Regions from separate parts of the Homo sapiens genome. Here region 2 is linked to region 1. The links are contacts of gene promoters, found by promoter capture Hi-C in human tissues and cell types (Jung and others, 2019). All regions are on one chromosome and are shown on one strand. The core of a region is centred on a gene start or on the middle of the fragment in contact, and the rest is flanking DNA. Distances in the headings are between cores, read along the strand shown. Region 1 holds the start of ASB16 (ankyrin repeat and SOCS box containing 16). Region 2 overlaps LSM12 (LSM12 homolog).

What was found. The method cuts DNA at HindIII sites, captures the fragments that hold promoters and counts their contacts. A contact is called where the count stands out against the background at its distance.
Region 2: a contact is called between a fragment that was not itself captured here and the fragment with the promoter of ASB16 in region 1, in 2 of the 25 tissues and cell types used here (dorsolateral prefrontal cortex and mesenchymal stem cells).

The regions. Positions count from the first base shown.
Region 1 is chr17:44,166,047-44,172,735 of GRCh38, reverse strand. It overlaps ASB16 (ankyrin repeat and SOCS box containing 16), which reads right to left and starts at 2,032. Exons shown (of 5, transcript NM_080863.5): 1 at 1,646-2,032; 2 at 423-690. The coding sequence starts at 1,946. The HindIII fragment of the contact is 17,920 bases long and covers 1-2,425 here.
Region 2 is chr17:44,057,367-44,063,981 of GRCh38, reverse strand. It overlaps LSM12 (LSM12 homolog), which reads left to right. Exons shown (of 5, transcript NM_001371445.1): 2 at 48-181. Among named protein-coding and RNA genes, the nearest start is that of LSM12, 6.0 kb to the left of the region's middle. The HindIII fragment of the contact is 3,461 bases long and covers 1,191-4,651 here.

The sequences.
Region 1 (6,689 bases), core at 783-3,282:
CTGAGGCATTTGAACCCAGGAGGCAGAGGTTGCAGTGAGCTGAGACCACGCCACTGCACTACAGCCTGGGCAACAGAGCAAGACTTCGTCTCAAAAAACAAAAAAAAACAGCTAGGTTTGGCTACAAAGGATTCACAGGGTATTGGAGACTGCAGTTGGAACAGAGTTTTCCCAAAAAGCAACAGGGCTTCTGCCTCCTGGGCTTAGCAGATGTGACCTTGGACAAGTTACTAAGCCTTTCTGAGCTTCATTTTTCTCATCTGTAGGATGAGGTGTCTCCAGGTTATTGTGAAGATGTGTATATGCGGTGCTTTATGAACCACAAAGCTGCATGTGGTTGTCAGGTTCCCTCTTCTGGCCTTGTGAGCTGGAGACACACACACACATTTCTCCCCAAACTGTCTCAGCCCCCAGGCACCTACTGCAAGGACTCGGGGATCGTGCAGAGGTGCAAAGGAGTCGTGCCCTCCTCAGTCAGCACATTAGCCTTGGCTCCGAAGGTCAGCAGCAGCCGCACACAGTCAAACTGGGCTCGGGCACAGGCCTCATGCAAGGCAGCGCGACCCCCGACACGGGCATCCAGCTCAGCTCCCTGCCGGATCAGGTGTCGAGCACAGTCTGTGTAGCCTCGGGCTGTAGCGATGGCGAGGGGTGCCGTCTGCTTGGTCTTGGGGGTCAGCACCCAGAACCCTAGGGAGAGCAAATAGTTTTGGGAGGTGGTGTATAAGACAGGGCAGGGCAGGGAGTGGGGATGCTGGTTCCAGCTGACAGCTGACACTGGCCTTCCCTCTGCATGGTTTGCTGAGCACAAACACTGCCAGGCTGTACCTGTGGAAGGGGGCTTATTCAAGTCCTGAAGTGGAAGAATAAATTGGAACAGCCTTTTAATACAGCTTATCAATCTGTAACAAAACATAGTATGTGTCATAAAAAAATTAATTGCTGTATAAAACCACAGGGGCCAACTAAGTAGAGTGACTCCCATTAAGGAAATCTCAGCGTCTTTGAATGGCTAATAGTGTCAAAGGCTTGTTCACCTTGGGGCCTGGGGTGGTGGCTCACACCTGTAATCCTAGCACTTTGGGAGGCCAAGGCGGGATGATCACTTGACCTCAGGAGTTCGAGATGAGCCTGGGCAACATAGTGAGACCTTGTCTCTTTTTTTTTTTTTTTTAGGCAGGGTCTCGCTCTGTCCCCCAGGCTGGAATGCAGTGGCGCTATCTTGGCTCACTGCAAGCTCCGCCTCCCGGGTTTAAGTGATTCTTCTGCCTCAGCTGCTGAGTAGCTGGGATTACAGGTGCGCACCACCATGCCCGGCTAATTTTTCTATTTTTAGTAGAGATGGGGTTTTACCATGTTGGTCAGGCTGGTCTCAAACTTCTGACTTCGTGATCCGCCTGCCTTGGCCTCCCAAAGTGCTGGGATTACAGGCGTGAGCCACTGTGCCCGGTCAACTTTTAATTCTTAAAAGACATACAGACTGCTAACCCTGCCTCATCTCTGTTTAGGAGGGAGCTAGGATAGGTGGTGGAAAGGGCTGCTATAGTCTGTGGTCTGCAGGGAAGGAGGGGCCTAGACTCTCCCCCTTCCCCACCCACTCCCCTTCTTTCTCCCTCCTCTTCTGCCCTCTTCTGGTGCCCCCTACCCTGTTCAGCCGACCAGGCCAGCTGGTTGCTCACAGTCTCCACAATCATGTTGGCGGCCTCTTCATCTTGGAACAGGGCTTGGACCTGCTGCAGGTTGCCGGAGAAGAGGGCTTGGTGGACAGCTGGGTCTCGGCAGGAACGGTGAGGCCTAGTGAGTCGGGCCCGGGGACTTGACGGGCACCTGCGGCTCCGGCACTGCTGGGCAGCCGCCCGCCGCCGGTCCTCCCATTCCAGCCACTCCTGCTGCAGGCGGAGAGAGCGCAGCATGGAGGAGGTGAAGGGGAAGGTCTCTCTTGCCATGGATGGGGCCCAGGGGTTTGGGCAGTGGCACCTGGGCAGAGCCAGGTTCCCTCGACCCGACTACCTCCCTTGCTCTGAGGAGCCACCCTGCCCCCGCCACCGTGAGCCAGAGAAAGCAGCAGCTGAGGCTATAAATAGGTCCTTTGCTGCTCTGGTAAACATGGTTTGCTCAGAGTCATGATCCTGGTGCTGAGAAGCTGCTGGCCCAACCCCCAGCCCAGGGTGAGGGCCAGCCCCTGCCCCTGCCGATACCCTTTGGTTGGTCAGCAGGCCCTCAGCTGAGGCCACCCCCGAACCCCAGCATCTGCATCCACCTTCATCTCTAGAGCGAGCATCTTGGGTTGGCAAGGTCCAGGGTGCGCAAAAAGGTCAGTCATGGAGATGGGCAGGGCTGGGAGGAAGACAAGGTGCCTCCAGCCTCTCTGATGTTGGCTGGAGGGCAGGAGCCACCATTGGCCCACGTGGAGGAGAGAGGGCTGACCTCAGCACAGGAGGTAAGGGGAGGTCAAGGCAGAGTTACTGAGAAGGTGAGCAGCTCTTCCCAGCATCTGCAGTAACAGCAATAACTCTGTACATATGCACAGAGTTTCACGGTGTTTAAATCACATTCATATCCACCTTCACCCAGGGGATCATACTTCCCAGCCCACCCAATAATTAGTAAACTTGGTTTGGACAATAAATGAAATTATCACAGTTGAATGCCCCTGAGATGGGTGGTCTTATCTCTGTTTTACAGATGAGGAATTTAAGGCTTAACAAAGTAATCTACTGGCTCAAGGTCACAGTTTGTGAGAGGCAGAGCCAGGACCCCACATAGATGGTGTGCTTTGGGCCAAGAATGGTGGCTCATGCCTGTAATCCTAGCACTTTGGGAGGCCAAGACAGGAGGATTGCTTGAGCCTAGGAGTTTGAGACAATCCTGGGCAACACAGTGAGACCTATATCTTTTTTTTTTTTTTTTTTTTTTTTGAGACAGAGTCTCACCCTGTCTCCCATGCTGGAGTGCAATGGCACGATCTTGGCTCACTGCAACCTCCGCCTCCCGGGCTCAAACGATTCTCTTGCCTCAGCCTCCTGAGTAGCTGGGATTATAGGCACCCGCCACCATGCCCAGCTAAATTTTGTATTTTTAGTAGAGATTTAATTTAGGGTTTCACCATGTTGGCCAGGCTGGTCTCGAACTCCTGACCTCGTGGTCTGCCCGCCTCGGCCTCCCAAAGTGCTAGGATTATAGGCGTGAGCCACCACCCCCTGCCTCTCCATCTCTTAAAAAAAGAAGAAAAAAAAAAAAAGATGGTACACTTTTTGCCTTCAGCTGCTGCAGCCACCTGGCAGCCTCCCCCATTCTCCAAGCAGGACAGACTAGTCTGTAGAAACTGCCTTCAATCATCCTTTTTTTTTTTTTCTCATGGTGTCACCCAGTCTGGAGTGCAGTGGGGTGATCTCGGCTCACTGAAACCTCCGTTTCCTGGGGTTCAAGTGATTCTCCTGCCTTAGCTGCCTGAGTAGCTGGGATTATAGGTGCATGCCACCATGCCCAGCTGATTTTTGTATTTTTATTTATTATTATTTTTTTTTTGAGATGGAGTCTCGCTCTGTCACCCAGGCTGGAGTGCAGTGGCGCGACCTCGGCTCACTGCAAGCTCCGCCTCCCGGGTTCACGCCATTCTCCTGCCTCAGCCTCCCGAGTAGCTGGGACCACAGGCGCCTGCCACCACACCTGGCTAATTTTTTGTATTTTTAGTAGAGACAAGGTTTCGCCGTATTAGCCAAGAATAGGATGGTTTCGATCTCCTGACCTCGTGATCCGCCCGCCTCGGCCTCCCAAAGTGCTGGGATCACAGGCGTGAGCCACCGCGCCCGGCCGATTTTTGTATTTTTAGTAGTCGGTTTCGCCATGTTGGCCAGGCTGGTCTGAAACTCCTGACTTCAGGCGATCTGCCCGCCTCGGCCCCCCAAAGTGTTGGTATTACAGGCGTGAGCCACAGCTCCCAGCACCTTCAATCATCCTTGATTTATTTTTTTAACCCAGCTGCTAAGGGGGCTCACATGGCCGGCCTGAGGAGAGCCAAGGGGTTGAGCTGGAAACTCTGGGAATGGACCTAAGATGTTTAAGCCACAGACCTGTTCACTCTTAGGAGAAAGCAGCTGTGCTTCCAGGAGCCTCTAGGGGGAGGAATGAAGCCGTGAAACCACACAAGCTGGTGTGCCTGCCAAGCTGGGGAAGGGGAGGGCTCAAAAGCTCTGCTCACCCTGAGCTCACTCAGTGCACAGCGGCCTGCAGGCAGGGCTGGTCTGTCCCCTCTGCATCTGGGGCTCCTCCTGGCCCTTCTCCCGCTGCCTGTCCTGCCTCCTGGCCCTGCAGCAGCACCTTGCCCAGTGATCTTTTATTTCTTCCTCTCCCTAGGCCCTTCCCATAAGCAAGTTCTAGCTCCTGTTCTTACATTTTCAGGGACTGTCTCAAGTTCAGCCCCTCGATGTAATGCCTTAAACCTGGATCAACTCAGTCTTTCACCTGGTGTTTCTTCCTCTGGCCATATCCCTTCTGCTCCGCTGCCGGAATGATCTGTCTAAAATGGTTAATTCCCTTGCTTAAAAACTTCTGCTGCCTTCCAATACCTGTCCTTTCATTTTTTTAAAATAGGGCTCCAAATCCTGGCCTCAAGCAGTCCTCCCAAGTCAGCCTCCTGAATTGCTGGGATTACAGGTGTGAGCCACTGCACCTGGCCTGCCCTTTTCAACTAAGCCCCCAATTCCTTGGTTTGGCCCCATGCCACTCACGTAGGGTAGGCATCCTCATCACGCACGGCTCCCCACAACCGTTCCCTGTCAGGCCATTCCCTTAGCTCAGAATTCCCTCAACACCTTCCTGAGGATCTACCCCTAAGGTCACCTGCTCTGAGAGGTCTCTTCAGCAACCCATTGCCTGACTCTTATAGTTCCAGCCACTGCCCAATCTGCACTCCTGAAGGACTCAGGGGCACGCTGTAAAGCACCTATCTATGCTGTTGATGTGGGTCTGCCATGCTGGATGTGGGCTCCAGAGCAGGCCCTGGCAGTCAGAGCACTTGGCTCATGGCAGGCGGGCCTCTTATGTGTAGTGCATTGAACGAAGGTCCCTGTTCTCTGCCAGAGCAAACATCCATCCACCCGCCCGCCCAAGTGGGTGGCAGCAGCCTGGGCTTTTTCCGGCATTGCCCCTACTCTACTGTTCACCTACTCTCTGCCTGGCTCCAGCCTCTTGGTGGCAGTCCAGGGTGGGGGATCCCAGAGGAGGAATTAGATCATACAAAGCAAAGCCTGGAGGTCCTCAGAGAAAGATGCCTCTATAAATGCAGCCTTGATGAACCCTGTTGGCACCCATTTGGTGTGTTAATTGCCACATCAACGGCCTGGCTGGGCACCCACAGCTGGGTTCCCAGGGTTGAGAATCTGGCAAGGCTGGGTGAGACCAAGAGAGGCCAAGGCAGGTGGGTGTCCCCTTCCTCCCTGAGGCACACAAGAGTCATAGCCTAGCCCCTCCCCTGCCTTCTTGCCACACAGACCTGAAGGAGCTAGGTACCCTAACAGCTTAGTCCCAAGATACCACTGTATTCAGTCCCCTTGTCTGTAGAGTTAGCTTCCTGAGGGCAGAGAAAGGAGGCCTTGACTTCAACCTGGAGGGAACAGGGCCAGGTGATCAGATGCCCAGCCTGCCTTCTGGGATCTCAGAGCCTGTGGGGTAGTGAAGCACACAAGAAGCCAGGATGTGAGCGTGGGATTGATCAGGACTGAGCAGGGGGACCGGGGCTCATGGGTGTCAAGAATGGGGAATAGGCCCAGGGCAGAGGGGAGCTTTTATTTTTTTAGAGACGAAATCTCCCTATGTTGCCCAGGCTGGTCTCAATCTTCTAGGCTCAAGTGATTCTCTCACCTCAGCCTCCCAAGTGGCTGGGACTACAGGTGCATGCTGCCACTCCCAGCTGTGGGGGTTTAGGTGCAGGAAGATCCCAGTGTAGATGGGGAGTTAGCAGGGAGTGGAAGGTGGGAGAGAAGGAAATGTATGGTAGGTTCAGGTAGAAAAACCCAATGGGAATGTGAAGGGACCAGGGTGCAGGGGAATTAGCCCCTTCTTGCCCTGGCCTTGTGGCACAAAAGCCTCTAGAACAGGGCCCTGCTGTAATCAGCAGGTAAGTGAACATGGAGTTCTCAAAGCACTTACTCACTTCAGCCTTAAGACTGGGATCCAGTGGGGCACTGTGGCTCACACCTGTAATCCCAGCACTTTGGGAGGCTGAGGTGGGAAGGATCACTTGAGCCCGGGAGTTCAAGACCAGTCTGGAGAACACAGCAAGACTCCATCTCTACAGAAAAATGTTGTTAATTAGCTAGGCGTGGTGGCACGCACCAGTAGTCTGTTACTTGGGAGGCTGAGATGGGAGGACTGCTTAAGCCTAGGAGATCGAGGCTGCAGTGAGCCATGATCACACCACTGCACTGCACTCCAGTTTGGTGACAGAGTGAGACCATGTCTCTAAAACGACGACAACAACAACAACAAAACTGGAATCCATGGGATCAGCCTCTTTGGGAAAAGGAGATTAACGCTTCCCCCCAGAGGAGTGCCAAGCCCATGCCCATGGAAGGCCTCTGTCTCCTAGCTGCTTAGTGCAGGCTGAGGCTAAGGCAGGAGGGGCTGGCTGTCAAACAGGGCTATTTATTATTTTATTTACTTATTCAAGAGATAGCATCTCACCACCT
Region 2 (6,615 bases), core at 1,672-4,171, 110 kb after region 1:
TGCCTCTGCTTGTCCTATTTTTCCTTAACTTTTTTTTTTCTCACCAGAATGTCCCTCTTCCAGTGGAAAGCCCAACCATGCAGACATCTTGCTCATAAACTTACAGTATGTTTCAGAAGTGGAAATAATTAATGACCGAACAGAAACCCCTCCTCCCCTAGCTTCACTCAATGTTAGTAAGGTAAGGACTCAAGGGCAGATCTGGCTCTCTAAAATGGTGGGAAAGATGAGTCTCATTGAGTCTTAGTGATACATTGTTGTCTATTTTTTATTTTTTAAAATTGACTTAAAATTGTTTGTTCTGATATCTTTTTAAAAAATGTAGGTTTAGTTTTTCTCTTTATTCCTGGATGTTATCAGTAGATCTTAAGAAGTAGCTTAACTCCCAAATAAGTTGAGAGCTTGCTTCTGCCTTTATGAAAGAGGACTTTTTAAATCTTGGAGTTCATGATGAACTAATAGTGCTGCTGGGGTTTGGGTGGTGGCGTTACCTATGAATGTCTTCAAATTGTGTATATGTGGATGTGTGCATACGTGAATATATGCATTTTCTGCTTGAAGATCTAAAGTGTTTTTCAGATTCTCGGAGGGTTTCATGACTTAGAAAAGTTTGAAAGCCACTGTCTTAAAGGTTCTTTTTTGTCTTTATGTTTGAATTTTGAGTTCTAACAGTTACATGCTTAGCATATTTTAATCTTGCACATAAAAGTTGATCTCTGGGAACCCCCAAGTCACTTTTGTGTGTGTATGTGTGAGACAGGGTCTTGCTTTGTTGCCCAGGTTGAACTTGAACGCCTGGGCTCAAGTGACCCTCCTGCCTCGGCCTTCTGAGTAGCTGGGATTACATGCATGCGTCACCATGCCTGCCCAAGTCTTTCTTTTTATTGGAGCCACTGCGCCCGGCGTTTTTTTTGAGACAGAGTCTCTCTGTGTCGCCCAGGCTGGAGTGCAGTGACGCGATCTCGGCTCACTGTAACCTCCGCCTCCCAGGTTAAGTGATTCTCGTGCCTCAGCCTCTGGAGTAGTTGGGACTACAGGTGTGTGCCACGACGCCTGGCCAAATTTTTTTTTTTTTTGGAGACAGGCACACACTGTCACACCCGGCTAATTTGTTTTATTTTAGTAGAGACGGGGTTTCATTCTGTTGCCCAGGCTGGTCTTGAACTCCTGAGCTCAGGCAGTCTGCTTGCCTCGGCCTCCCAAAGTGGTAAGATTATAGGTGTGAGCCACTGCTCCTGGCTCAATTTTTGTATTATTAGTAGAGATGGGGTTTCACCATGCTGGCCAGGCTGATCTTGAACTTCTGACCTCAAGTGATCTGCCTGCCTCAGCCTCCCAAAGTGCTGGGATTACAGGTGTCAGCCACCATGCCCGGCCCTAAGTCACTTTTTTGACAATTCCGTTTATTTAGTCAAAATTGAAGTTGATCATAATAATGCCTCAAGCCCTGTCATAGCCTGTGCTGTCCCCTGTACTTGGAACATTTTTCCTTCCAGAATGACTGGAGCCTTACCACCCATCAGCACTCAGTTAAATGGCACGTCTTCCAAGAAGTCTTCTCTGATCACCCAGGCTGAAGTAATTTGCCTGCATTATTCTCTCTCATAGTACCTTGTCCTTCACAGTTAAGGTGACCATATCATTTGTAGTCCAACCTGGGACATTTTTGAGAGTAAAGGGGAATGCTTTTATTTTACACAGGGACAACAGGTATAGATTAGGTTACCCTATTCATAGCTTTTTTTTTTTTTTTTTTTTTTGAGACGGAGTCTCGCTTTGTCGCCCAGGCTGGAGTGCAGTGGCGCCATCTCAGCTCACTGCAAGCTCCGCCTCCCGGGTTCATGCCATTCTCCTGCCTCAGCCTTCCTAGTAGCTGGGACTACAGGCGCCCGACACCACGCCCGGCTAACTTTTTTGTATTTTTAGTAGAGACGGGGTTTCACTGTGTTAGCCAGGACGGTCTCGATCTCCTGACTTTGTGATCCGCCCGCCTCGGCCTCCCAAAGTGCTGGGATTACAGGCGTGAGCCACCGCTCCTGGCCATAGTTGTTTACTTGTCTAGTGTCTGTCTCACTAAACTTTATTCTGCAGGGATGGGGACCATACCTATTTTATTTACTATTGAATATACAGAGCCTTGCACAGAGTATTTAATAAATATTTGTTGGATGAATAAGATGCCTCCAATTTTAGTAGCAGGTGCTTTTCATTAAGTCTCTTGAATTAATGTGGTGGAAGTTTTTCCCTCTAGAGGAATCTTGCAATAATGTGTATTACTTTGCCTCTCTTGGGAATGTGGTGTGTTCTGTACAGTTCAGCAAAGCAAGGAAACACTTAGGCAACTAAAATAATAGAGGGTAACTGATGCTGAGGCTAGTGAATGTCGTTACCTCAGATCTGGAGTTCCTATCTTGTCAGATTCTAGGGAAATGCCACACATTTTTTAGTGATGGCCAGGGACAGATTTGGAAGGCTATTGAGTTCATATGGGTGTTGTCTTGTATGGGATGTCCCATTCTTTGAAGCTTATAGGTTTTTGAAACCTTGGCTTAGTAATATACCTTCTACCAGAGTATAGGAGCTCTTTGAGTGTCTTCTATAAGCTCATGAAATTTTAAGACTTGTTAAATAATTTATTCCTTGGTGTTTTTTTTTTTTTTTTTTGAGATGGAGTTTCGCTCTTGTTGCCCAGGCTGGAGTGCAATGGTGCAACCTCGGCTCACCGCAACCTCCGCCTCCCGGGTTCAAGTGATTCTCCTGCCTCAGCCTCCTGAGTAGCTGGGATTACAGGCATGCACAGCCACACCCAGCTAATTTTGTATTTTTAGTAGAGACGGGGTTTCTCCGTGTTGGTCAGGCTGGTCTCGAACTCCCGACCTCAGGTGATCCGCCCGCCTCAGCCTCCCAAAGTGCTGGAATTACAGGCGTGAGCCACTGTGCCCAGCATTATTCCTAGTGTATTAAAGAACCAAATAGGCTCTGAGTTATTTTTTGGTGTTTATAGGGTATGATAAGTCTGTCACTAGATCTTTAGTGAGTAGTAAAGATCTGAAAGAGAGGTGATTTTCTGAAGTTAGAAAGTTGGCTCTTGTGACCAATGAGTGCCACCATTTAGAGGGGGTGGGGTAGTGTGGATGGGACTGTTAAGCAGGAGCTGTTAAGAAGCAGTTCTCTTCTTATGTTTGACCTCAGGTAGATATAGCTCTTGGTTAGTTTGTGGATTATCTTTGCCTTTAGGGTTTTCCTTGTTTACTAGCATTGTTGTAAACTAGCTGATTACCCAGTTTTTGAGGAAAGCAGCAGGAAGTAATAGCTTGGGGAACACCAGAAATCTTTACTTTTCTTACTCTGTGGCCTGCTTGCCAAATCTTGAAAGAGGTTTGCTGGGAAGAGGAGTCAGAAACTAAAAACTAAAATTAGGTTGGAGGGTTATCTTTGGATTTCGTTTATTCATTCTTCCGTTTGCAGAGATGTTTATGAGTAAGCTATATTGGCTTTCCCTTGAAATCAACCTTTTAGGATGCTTTGCGATTCCTTTTTGGAGATTGACTTAGAATTAGAGAGAGCCTTTTGGGCTACTGCTGAAAACAGCTATTTCGGGCAGCTATTAACATGTTGCATGAATGACGTGAAAAGTTAGTCTCATTTTTAAGATCACGGACTTGAGTTTTTCTTAAGATGGAGGATCATTTAAGCATATGGAAGGGAACTAATGTACTCTGGGATGTCTGGAAGAAAACTGTTGAAGTTTCAGTTGCTTGCAGTCTGGAGAAGCACTAGCCTACTCTATTTATTTTATTTTATTTATTTATTTTTTGAGACGAAGTCTTGCTCTGTCGCCCAGGCTGGAGTGCAGTGGCGCCATCTCGGCTCACTGCAAGCTCCACCTCCCGGGTTCATGCCATTCTCCTGCCTCAGCCTCCCGAGTAGCTGGGACTACAGGCGCCCGCCACCATGTCCGGCTAATTTTTTTGTATTTTTAGTAGAGACGGGGTTTCACCATGTTGGCCAGGATGGTCTCGATCTCCTGACCTTGTGATCCGCCCGCCTCGGCCTCCCAAAGTGCTGGGATTACAGGCTTGAGCCACCACACCCGGCCTACTCTAACTTTAGTCAAAGGTATCATCACATATTGGCCCATCTTGCTGACATAGTAAGTGATCTGCTTAATTAAACCTGTTGATAAAAACCGGATATTTGTTGACTCTGACCTAGCAGGAAATGGAAGAGAAGGGCTTATACAGGAAATACTTAATAATAGCTCAACTAGGGAAGGTATAAACTAGCAACTTCTTGGAAATTGGCCTGTTTTGCTTTCGAATGATAGTTCACTTCAGGCTAAGAAGTCTTATTTCTATCTCCAGCAGTAGCATGTAAGAGGAAGCTTGAGAGAGGACAGTAGGGTTGCAGTAGGGGGAATTCTTTTTTTTGAGACAGGGTCTCAGTCCATTGCCCGGTGTGATCTCGGTTCAAGCGATTCTCCTGTCTCAGCCTCCTGAGTAGCTGGGATTACAGGCGCCTGCTGCCACCATGCCCGGCTAATTTTTCTATTTTTAGTAGAGATGGGGTTTTGCCGTGTTGACCAGGCTGGCCTTGAACTCCTGACCTCAGATAATCCACCTGCGTCGGCCTCCTAAAGTGTTAGGATTATAGGCGTGAGCCACTGCACCTGGCCAAGTCCCCTGTTTTTCTATTACTTTGTGTTTAGCCCAAGGAACTCATAGTTTGGCAACATGAAGTACCCTGAATAATGTACAATGCTAAGTTATGTTTCGTGTGTGTGTGTATGTGTGTGTGTGTGTTCTGTTTTTTAGAGATATAGTCTCATTCTGTTGACCAGGCTAGAGTGCAGTGGCATGATCATAACTCACTGCAGCTTCGAACTCCTGGCTCATAGCCTCAAGTGATCCGCCCAAGCTTCCTGAGTAGCTGGGACTACAATCTCCCATCACCACACCTGGGTGGTTGTTTTGTTTCTTTTTAGTTAGTCTCGCACTGTGCCCAGGCTGGAGTGCAAATGATGCAGTCACAGCTCACCGCAGCCTCGACCTCCAGGGTTCGCTCAAGTGATCTTTCCACCTCGCCTCCCAAGTAGCTGGGACTACCGGCACAAACCACCACACCTGGCTAATTTTTCTTTCTTTTTTGAGATGGAGTCTTGCCCTGTTGCCCAGGCTGGAGTGCGGTGGTGCCGTGATCTCGGCTCACTGCAACCTCTGCCTCCTAGGTTCAAGCAATTCTCCTGCCTCAGCCTCCTAAGTAGCTGGGATTACAGGCGTGCGCCACCATGCCTGGCTAATTTTTTGTATCTTTAGTAGAGATGGGGTTTCACCATGTTGACCAGGCTGATCTCGAACTCCTGACCTCATGATCCACCCGCCTTGGCCTCCCAAAGTGCTGGGTTTACAGGCGTGAGCCACCGCGCCCAGCCTAGTTTTTTTTTGTAGAGACAGGGTCTTACTGTGTGGCCCAGGATGGTCTGTAACTCCTGGGCTCAAGCAATCCTCCTTCCTCGGCTTCCCAAAGTATTCGAATTACAGGTATGAGCCACTGGCCCAGCCCCTAGGTAACGTTTCTAAGTAAAGAAAAACATCTATGTTCTGTGGTCAGGGGCAGGGTAGTCTAGTAGAAAAGACTTAGGAATGAACCAAGTAGATCAGTCTTTAAAGTCATTAGACTTGGCAGATGTTAGTTAATGTCTCCCAAATTATTATTATTATTATTATTATTTATTATTTTTTTTTTGAGACGGAGTCTTGCTCAGTCGCCCAGGCTGGAGTGCAGTGGCGCGATCTCGGCTCACTGCAAGCTCCGCCTCCTGGGTTCACGCCATTCTCCTGCCTCAGCCTCCCGAGTAGCTGGGACTACAGGCGCCCACCACCACGCCCAGCTAATTTTTTTGTATTTTTAGTAGAGACAGGGTTTCCCCGTGTTAGCTAGGATGGTCTCAATCTCCTGACCTCATGATCCCCCCATCTCAGCCTCCCAAAGTGCTGGGATTACAGGCGTGAGCCACTGTGCCCGGCCCAGATTTTTTTATTGTAGCTAACTAATGCTCATTGAATTATGGGATGAGATAAGGCAGGGGAAGGAGGGCATTGTGACAAAGGGCCCATAGAAGATTTATGCCATTACACTAGGCTCTCACTTAACGTCTTTGGTAGGTTCTTGGAAACTTTGACTTTATGTATTATTATTATTATTATTACTTTGTTTTTTTTTTGAGACAGAGTCTCCGTCTGTCTCCCAGGCTATAATGCAGTAGTGCTGTCTCAGCTCACTGCAACCTCTGCCTCCCAGGTTCAAGCAGTTCTCTACCTCAGCCTCCGGAGTAGCTGGGATTCCAGGCATCTGCCACCACAGCTGGCTAATTTTTGTATTTTTGGTAGAGACAGGGTTTCACCATCTTGGCCAGGGTGGTCTTGAACTCCTGACCTCATGATCCGCCCACCTCCGCCTCCCAAAGTGCTGGGATTACAGGCGTGAGCCACTGTACCTGGCACATTATTATTTATTTTTTTAAGATGAAGTCTCACCCAGGCACGGTGGCTCACGCCTGTAGTCCTAGCACTTTGAGAGGCCGAGGCGGGCGGATCACGAGGTCAGGAGATCAAG